Linked DNA regions of Homo sapiens: all the other regions are linked to region 2. The links are contacts of gene promoters, found by promoter capture Hi-C in blood cells and fetal thymus (Javierre and others, 2016). All regions are on one chromosome and are shown on one strand. The core of a region is centred on a gene start or on the middle of the fragment in contact, and the rest is flanking DNA. Distances in the headings are between cores, read along the strand shown.

Region 1 (3,175 bases), core at 227-2,726, 330 kb after region 2:
CAAGGATTTTACATCTGTGGATAAATCACAACATACCCACATACATTTCAATCATAAGCATATGAGAGTTCAAAACAAACCTGAGTGGGGAGAATGGGAAAGGAATACTGAATTACAAAGCTCAAAGAGATTTTTTGTATATTCATTTTCTATTGTTAACATGTTTTTATTGCAAGATGTAAAGTACAATACAAATGAGCGATTATTGCCATTAACATAAACGAAGTTACATGATAGAATTTTGTAGGCTCACAGACTCACAGGCTGAAAAGGGATATTAAACGGCAATTAGCTAAACCATCCATGTAGTATCTGAACCCTTCAATAGCATCATGGAACAGTTCTATCCTCTTTCCAAAAATGTGTGCATTGGTAGGGAGCCTAGTACCTCAAGAGGCTGCCTTAGACAGTACTGGCAGAAATTATTTTCTTATATCAAGCTGAAAATTTTCCCTGTAGTTCTTCTACCACACCTAACCCATCCCTCCTGCTTTCCTCTCTAACCCACAAACACAACGTCAAACAGGTGGACAGTGACCCCGCTGGGCTGGACTATCTGTGGCCACAGTGACTGGTCTAAGAGATAATCTTATAATTCAAACCAGGCATTCAGGGGCCATCTGCATTTGTCAAGCAGAGGCTAGGAGAGAAGCCATATTCCCCACCACAAGGAGAAGCGTTGAGAGTTAGCCAAAACCTAATGAAAAGCAGAGACAAAATAAGAGTAGAGGGTGTCCTGTACTTCTAGGCTTTCTGTACTTTCTGGTCTCAAAGATCCCAGGAGCTACCCTTATCCTCCAGTCTTCTCCTTTATTTATGAGTTACTCCAGTATCCTTCCTTTATTTCTGAATTACTCCAGTACTCTCAAAAAGCTTCAAATTCCTTCACCACCTTCATCCCATACCTTTTAATCAGCCTCAGTTCTTCTAACCACAGAGGTTAGGCTCTTTGAACGGAATATGGCTATAAAAACCATTTTTGGCAATATAAAGGTCTTACATAAAATAAAATAGTGAGTTGCAGGAAAGCAGTGAAAATAAAATTGGACATTTGTGTGTATATTTATTTATTACTGGGAGAAAAAAAATGTTACAGAATACAACCACTTCCAGAGCAAACCACATTTGCCAATGTCAACAATCCACTCTTATAAATAACATCACCATCTTGAATGGCTTGTTCAGTTACAGAGTGGTAGCATCACACTACCCTTAGTAGGAAGGAATTTAGCTTATGTTGTACATGCATTCTCCCTTGTTTCTTTTTCATAAATTTCAGCAAGAATACTTGAGAAAATACTTTATATTTTCACAAATTAACTGTGTCTTTATAGATTCCTTTTCTCTACACTATTGCAGAAACACAAGTTTGCCAATTACTTCCAGTTGAAAAGAATGAACTAAATCATATGTACATACAGGTATATGAACATCTCAACTGTAGAATGCAAACATGAAAGTCCTGCTCTGACAGGAGACTATTTTATTCTCTTTAAAATGACACACCTAGAACTGAATACAGTGATATATGTATGATCTGACCAAGGTGGAAGAAAATGGAATCATCACCTTCCTCATGCTAGATACTATATTCCTTTAAGTGCAGTGTAAGACTGAATTGGCTTTTTGGTGATCACATCCAATTACTAAGTTATTAATAGGCTTCTTTTTGTTCAAAATCACCATATTCTTTAAAAAACAAAACAGCAAATACGTTGTTGCTCTCTTCCTGAAACTGAACTATGATTTTCTGAATCTAGGCTGATTGATATTTGTTAATCACACAATCAGAATAGCATTTTTGAAACCTTGTAGAGAGTTAATATTCTTTGTTTGGCAGCACATGCCAGAATCATGCCTTTTTAATTGAACCCTCTGAAATCAACATGGCTGAGGTCCAGGGTACACAGCTGAGTATGCCAGCCTTTCCCTTCCTGGCAAGCGATGAGCCCTGACACTTCCACTTCTATACTGAGTTTCACCTTGTTGTTCAGTCATAGATTTAGAGTGACAGCTTCCCTAGCCTCTTCCTCTGTTAGCAAAATATGTCAAAAATCTGCCTAAAGTGCCGAGCTGAATGAAGCTTTCAGCAAATATTTTGTGTCAGTTTTGTGACAAGTAACTGGAAGGTATTATTCATCATTCAGACACTGATGAGGCTGAAGAGTGTAGTAGTCAACTGAAGACCAGATCCAGACTGGGTTTCAAACCCGGCTCGCCATTTATTAATACTAGCTGTGGAACCCTGAGCAAGTCATTTGACCTCTTTGTCCTTCAGGTTTCTCATCTACACAGTGGGGTTAAATATTGGTACCTACCTAAAGGGATCATAGGGATTAAACAGTTAATACACATATAAAGTGCTTATTATTGGCACATAATAAGCACTTTATAAATCTGCCACATAATAAGCACTCTATAAATGTTTGCTGTGTTTTTCATTTTCTCCTTCTTGTCATACTTACTCTATGATAAAGTTCCATTCTCTTTGTAATCTCCAAGTTCTTTAGCAACTTTAACCCTCCCAGACACAGGCATACCACGACTCTGCCCTCTGTTTCAATAAGGTTTCCCCTTTGCAAAGGAATATGACCTGCCACCATTATATTCCAGCTTCAAGTTCCACCTCACTAGATCACAGTGATCCTTATCAGACATCATTTATCAACCTGCATTATCAACCTGCATAATATCAAGTGTATGTTAATATGTTTAGGAATGAGGCCAGACTACAAGTATTGCTTTTGGCTCCTTTCTAAATTTGTTTCTTCTATGCCCTCATTCTCCCTTTCATCTTAATACCTACTTTTCTCCAAAACAATCAGCCTTCCAGGTTTATCAAGTATAGTTGGTCCTCCATATCTGTGGGTTTTGCATTAACGGATTCAACCAACCATAGATAAAAAAAAAAATTAAAAAAAAAGATACAAATAAAAAACAATACAGTGTTATCAACTATTTACATAGCATTTGCATTATATTAGGTATCATAAGTAATACAGAGATGACAAAGTATATGGAAGGGTATGTGCAGGTGATATACAAATACGACACCATTTTATCTTCAGCATCTGCAGATTTGGTTATCTATGGGGGTCCTGGAACCAATACCCCATAGATACTGAGGGACCACTGTATTTTTTCTCCCTCCTACTTTAGTTTAGAGGCTCACTGA
Region 2 (3,056 bases), core at 494-2,993:
TGGTCTTAGCCTGTTGTCACCTGGAAAATGCAGATTACTTTTATATCTCTGGAAAGAATAGTGGCTTGGTCATCAGATGGCACACTCAAAAGGCACACATAAGTAGGTTTCTTGTCTCTGTCTTTAAAACAATAAGCACTTAAAGTATCATTTGGAGAAAACAGCAGTTACCAGGAAATCACTTAGCTGAGATAAAAAAGAAAAGAATCCTCGAATAGCATTTAATCTTCAAAATAAGAATTTTCCATTCTTGGGTCAGACCGATAGATGACATGGCATTTAGACATCCAATTCATACCTTTGCTTGCAACTGAGCCTCAGACACACATATATGATGGAAATGTTCTTTGGCATTACACTGCTTTCTTAGTTTGCATCGCTAGTCACCTTTGTATCATTTGCATCTGATTTGGAAAATATTTTAGAACAACCCAATAACAACTTCGAGATTAAAAAATAAAATTCTACACACTTTACAGTTCCTTGCTATTACATGAATGTGTAAATTGAATTCCCTCTCAGGAGAAAAAAAACAAAACAAGGGCTGGCTTCCCAAAAATGTTTTCACTGGCTTTAGGGAACTAAAACACCAGTGTCTGGGTGAGTAATACTTCCTGTAAAATAAAGATAGATCAACACATAATTAAGTCCTGGCTCACATATAATTGTTGTTTTGGAAACAGTTTTGAGGATAAATATGGTTATGCTAATGAAACTGCCCATGATTTCCACTAATGATCCAGTTTATTAATTAGGTCAGGACATTTTTCCACCTTGTGCTATCCATTTTGGAATGCTGAAAAGGGTTAAAAAAAAAAACTTCTAAGAGAACACTGTAGGCGAAGAAAAAGAGAGAAATTTTAAATTAGTTATCAACTCTTCTAAGGATTCCAGTTGGAGGAGTAGATCGAAAGTGCTTTTTCGATTATTTATGGGTTTCGAAGATTCTTCCTACTCCACTAGGCAGAAAAACAGAGTTGTAATATACAGCATTTAGAATTCATAATCCTTAGCATTATTTCTCTGAACTCGACATCCTAAATAGCCAGCGTTTACTAATTCCAGAGCTGAGTGTAGTTTTGTAGGAAGTTCTACTGAATGCGGAGACCAAAGGGGAGCCTGCCTGCTCTGAGGGTTTTGTTGAGGCTGAGTGTGAACTCCGGGCGAGAAAGCGCATCTCAGCTCTTAGATCACACCCACTCAGGGTGTGCGTGTGTGTGTGCGCGGGTGCCTGCGCGCGTGTGTACGTGTGGGGAGGTGTGCGCCAAAGGGGTGGGGTGAGGGGCGGCGAGGAGGGCTGTAGGTGAAGCGCGGGGAGAGGGAGGTCGCCCGCTCCGGCCTCTCCCCCAGGGGCCCTGCGGCTGGCCAGCGCTCCGGCTGCACCTCCTGGTGCGCGCCGCGGCGGCGCCACAGGCCCCTCGACCCTTTGACCACCGCCCTCGGGCCGCGCGTCCGGCAGCCGGGACCGGTGATGGCGCGGGACTGACGGCCGTCTCCTCCCAGACCCCTCTGTCCCGCCTGGGGCTCGCTGGGGCTGCGGCGCCGCCCCGAGCTGCATGTGGGGCGGGCGCGCCCGAGCCCAGAGCGAGCGGCCCTCGGCGCCCCCGAGGCGGTGCCCCGCCGCGCCAGAGTACGAGGAGGAGCGGCGGGCCGGGCCAGGCTCCCCACGCGCCGCAGCCTCGGAGCACGGGCTCCCCGGAGGGGACTTGGGGCGTCCCAGCCCAGGAGGAAGGACCCGGAAGCAGAAGCGGAGCCGCGAGTCGAGCCGAGCCACTGCCCCCGCTGCCCGCGGGCGCCGGGTGGGGGTCCCGGCGGCTGGATGGGCAGCGGCGGCGCGGGCCGCGGGCGGCGATGGGCGAGGAGCAGAGCACGGTGAGCGGCGGCGGCGGGCCCCAGGAGTCGCAGACCCTGGCCAGTGGCACTGCGGGCCACCCTGAGCCCCCGAGGCCTCAGGGGGACAGCGCCCGGGCGCCCCCGCTGCGCGCCGCCTCCGCGGAGCCGAGCGGCGGTGGCTGCGGAAGCGACTGGGGCTGCGCGGACACCAGCGCCCCAGAGCCCGCGAGGAGCCTGGGGCCCCCGGGCTGGAGTAAGAGCCGAGCACCGGCGCAGCCTGCGGGACTGGCACTCACCGGGCCTCTCAATCCCCAGACCTTGCCACTGCAGTTGGAGCTGGAGGAGGAAGAGGAGGAAGCTGGGGATCGAAAAGAGGGAGGGGATGAACAGCAGGAGGCGCCCCCCGGCGAAGAGCTGGAGCCCAGGACCCGCGTGGGGGCCGCCGACGGACTGGTCCTGGACGTGCTGGGTCAGCGGCGCCCGTCCCTCGCCAAGAGACAAGTCTTCTGCTCCGTGTACTGCGTGGAGAGCGACCTGCCCGAGGCCCCCGCCTCGGAGCAGCTCTCGCCGCCCGCGTCGCCACCTGGGGCTCCGCCAGTGTTGAACCCTCCCAGCACCCGCTCTTCCTTCCCCAGCCCCCGACTGTCCCTCCCAACGGATTCCCTCTCCCCCGACGGCGGCAGCATCGAGCTGGAGTTCTACCTGGCGCCCGAGCCGTTCTCCATGCCCAGCCTGTTGGGAGCTCCACCCTACTCTGGCCTGGGCGGTGTAGGGGATCCCTATGTGCCCCTCATGGTGCTGATGTGCCGGGTGTGCCTGGAAGACAAGCCCATCAAGCCCCTGCCTTGCTGCAAGAAGGCCGTGTGCGAGGAGTGCCTCAAAGTCTACCTGAGCGCCCAGGTAACTTCACCCCCTTCTCTTCCCCATTTATCATTCCAAATCACTGGCGAGGAGGTCCTGCTCTCGATCTGATCTCCCTGCTCGCGCGAAGAGGTGACCGACACACTTACTGAGGATCTCTGTTAGTTTCTCACGTCTCAGTTGTTATTTAAGTGTATTATGACCTCACTGGTTTACTTAACTGGAATTTAACTTTGCTGTGAACTTCAGGCTATGGTTGGCATGTGTAGAAGGCACAAGATACAAGTTGTTGCCCTCCTCTTATTTCTTATACAGGATTGCAAGCACAAGCTTGCTCAAAGGAGGAGAGGAAGAGACTGCCT
Region 3 (3,263 bases), core at 145-2,644, 300 kb after region 2:
GGCATTCTCCCTTATTTGTGCTTCCAGCCTGTTGGTTGAAGTAGAGGCAGGAAACCAACCCTGCCCAGCTGGTTCTCAGGCCGTGCTGGCTCGCCCACCACAGCACACAAGTACTCAGTCTCTGTGCCCAATCTATAGCTGCCTGTTGAGTGTGAAGTGGCTAACTTGTGAAAACTCCCTGCCACCTTCTTTTTTTACCATATTCAGCACACCGCATTGTATTAGATAAAGTTATGGTACTTTAAACAAATATCTCCGTTCACCAACCAATTTCTGCACACCATAGTCTCAGCCTTATAATCTGAAAACACAATATTAGAATTGGATAGAAAAACAATCAAGAAAACTTGTGGTAATATCTTAAAGCTTCCAACACATTTTAGCTATTTATTTTATTCCATTCATCAAAATTCTGATTTCATTAGTTTGGTAAGAATCTTATGCACATCATCTCTATTCATCTAAAAGCTTTTCATTATTCACTCTGACCTAGAAGTGATATTCATAATGGCCATGGCATAAGTAGCATTTTTTATTTTTGTCATAAAATGTGTGTGAATAACTCAGATTAGATAAATCAAACACTTGTTGGTAGGTGGGCAGTCTTACCTAGTTTAGGCAGTGAGCCTACTCTTAGCTTCAGGAGCATCACTAAGAGCTGCCTGGTCCTCCCTCACCATGGGTGTGCAAGATCATCCTGATGGGACTGATTGCTGAGCTTCTCAATTACATCTAGTGAGGCTCAGTTCACAAGCAGTAGTTTAAAGTGTTTCACAAGTCCTAAAAAGTAATTGCACACAATGGACATAACCTTTTACTAACAAACCAAAATGACTTCAGGTCAACACCATGTGTGTATGAAAGGATACCTCCACAGAAAATGTACAGTTGACCCTTGAACAACAGGAGTTTGAACTGTGAGGGTCCACTTATGTGCAGATTTTCTTCTGCCTCTGGCACCCCTTGAAACAGTGATACCAACCTCTCCCCTTCTGCAGCCTACTCAACATGAAGACAATGAGGATAAAGACCTTTATCATCATCTGCTTCCACTTAATGAATAGTACATATATTATCTCTGTTGTTTTTCTTTTAACATTTTGTTTCCAGAGCTTACTTTATTGTAAGAATACCACATGTAATGCATATAACATAAAAATATGTGTTAATTGGCCATTTATGTTATCAACAAGGCTTATGGTCAACAGTAGCTGTTGGTAGTTAGGTTTAGGGGGTGTCCAAAGTTAGAATCAGATTTTTGTTTTATTTATTTATTTATTTTTTTGAGACTGAGTCTCACCCTGTTGCCCAGGTTGGAGTGCAGTGGTGCAATCTTGGCTCACTGCAACCTCTGCCTCCTGGGTTCAAGCAATTCTCTGCCTCAGCCTCCCGAGTAGCTGGGATTACAGGCACCTACCACCACGCCTGGCTAATTTTTGTATTTTTAGTAGAGACAGGATTTTACCATCTTGGCCAGGCTGGTCTTGAACTCCTGACCTTGTGATCCACCTGCCCTGGCCTCCCAAAGTGTTGGGATTACAGGCGTGAGCCACAACTCCCAACCTAGAATCGGATTTTTGACTGTGCAGGCCTAATCCCCGAGTGGCTCAGGCGTCAATTCTTTCAATTATCAAAAATTCTGATGCAATTGTGATTACAAAACAAACTAGCTTTTAAAAAAAGTAAGCCATTCTGAAATTTAACGATTTACCACATTTTAAACACAGTTGCTATGATGAACATATTTGTAAATTTACAGTGCTACTTTATCTCACAACTCACATCACATAAAGATTACAACTATTGGCTGGGCATGGTGGCTCATGCCTGTAATCCCAGAACTTTGGGAGGCCAAGGTGGGTGGATCAACTGAGGTCAGGAGTTCGAGACCAGCCTGGCCAACACGGTGAAACCCCGTCTTTACTAAAAATGCAAAAATTAGCTGTGCTTGATGGCACATCCCTGTAATCCCAGCTACTTGGGAGGCTGAGGTGGGAGAATCTCTCGAACCAGGGAGGCAGAGGCTGCAGTGAGCCGAGATCTTGCCACTGCCTTCCAGCCTGGGTGACAGAGAGATGAGACCCTGTCTCAAAAAAAGATTACAACTATTGGCAGGTCATTTTAGCAATGCAATCTGCATATCTTACTCTAAATTACACATTTTGTTAGAAATCTGTTCTTGAACCATAGCAAACAGAACAAAGTGCATGCTTTAGGATGTGTCTTCATGATATGCCATGCCGTTCACAGTGGCCAGTGTAGAGGGAACCCAGGGATCTACACGGCTCTTCTGTCACTGTTCATTGTTCCAAAATTACGTGTAAGCTTTAAAGTTGTTCAACATCAACCCCATCGTCCTCCTCTCACTTAGTATTCAATTTGAGTGGAAGTAGTGTGATAAAGGAAGATGGTGGTAAGGTTGAAAAGTGACTTAATATGAAATGTGAAACAACTTCTTCAAACCTAGCATTCAAATGTAATTTCAAACTATAACAATATTTGGCAAAATCTTATGGCTACTTTTGATAACTTCTAAGCATGGTAAAATTCTTTATGCTACATTTCTGCTTGACTTTCAGTTCACACCAGAGGGTATATTCATGTACACACACATTATATATATAATATATATAATACATATCCATCCATTATATATATATATAAATTAAAGCAAACCAAAAATGACAAAATCATGTCTTTCACAGAAATCATCCCATTTCACCTTTGAATGTGAAGACTGACAAATTGCTTAAATGAAAATGCTGAGTACAGAGATGCTTTTTTTTACAAAGCGCTTCATCAGTCATTTCCCCCAGAGCATGTATCACCACCACAAGGCTTTGAGGTGGATCAACATTTTTCAAATACAAGGGCATTGAGAATTATGTAATAGCTGGTAAAATACCAATCCATAAGGGGAAAACAGTGTAGGGAAAATGGCTGTGCTTTAGTCAGGAGTAAGCTGAGGTGGTGTTGCAAAACTGAATGGCCTTAGACATACTAACTGCTGCCCAAGGAGGCACCTGTATCCTTTTAGGAACACGATGTTGTACCTTTATCCCTGACAATTGGCAGAACATAACAGCAGTTCTGCAAGGGGTCTCATGGGAAATTAAGTTGGTTGAGAGCCTTATTGATGGCCCCCTGCAGAGACGGTGGGCATCCCTGGTCTCTGGCCTATGCTGGGCCCTAAAAGTCATAACTAGTATAGCTGGGATCCTAGTAGTGAGCTGTCGCTCTCTGTATTGTTGTGGGTTATGGAT

The links. The method cuts DNA at HindIII sites, captures the fragments that hold promoters and counts their contacts. A CHiCAGO score of 5 or more calls a contact.
Region 1: a contact is called between a fragment that was not itself captured here and the fragment with the promoter of RNF217 in region 2, in 3 of 17 cell types (M0 macrophages, M2 macrophages and M1 macrophages). The highest score is 6.4, in M0 macrophages.
Region 3: a contact is called between a fragment that was not itself captured here and the fragment with the promoter of RNF217 in region 2, in 1 of 17 cell types (M1 macrophages). The highest score is 5.0, in M1 macrophages.

The regions. Positions count from the first base shown.
Region 1 is chr6:125,293,213-125,296,387 of GRCh38, forward strand. The region is part of intron 3 of HDDC2 (HD domain containing 2); the gene reads right to left. Among named protein-coding and RNA genes, the nearest start is that of HDDC2, 7.2 kb to the right of the region's middle. The HindIII fragment of the contact is 1,210 bases long and covers 872-2,081 here.
Region 2 is chr6:124,960,694-124,963,749 of GRCh38, forward strand. It overlaps RNF217 (ring finger protein 217), which reads left to right and starts at 1,744. Exons shown (of 6, transcript NM_001286398.3): 1 at 1,744-2,733. The coding sequence starts at 1,852. RNF217-AS1 (RNF217 antisense RNA 1) reads right to left here and starts at 2,334. Exons shown (of 7, transcript NR_026876.1): 1 at 2,130-2,334. The HindIII fragment of the contact is 3,639 bases long and covers 1-3,022 here.
Region 3 is chr6:125,264,573-125,267,835 of GRCh38, forward strand. No RefSeq gene overlaps it. Among named protein-coding and RNA genes, the nearest start is that of HDDC2, 36 kb to the right of the region's middle. The HindIII fragment of the contact is 1,857 bases long and covers 467-2,323 here.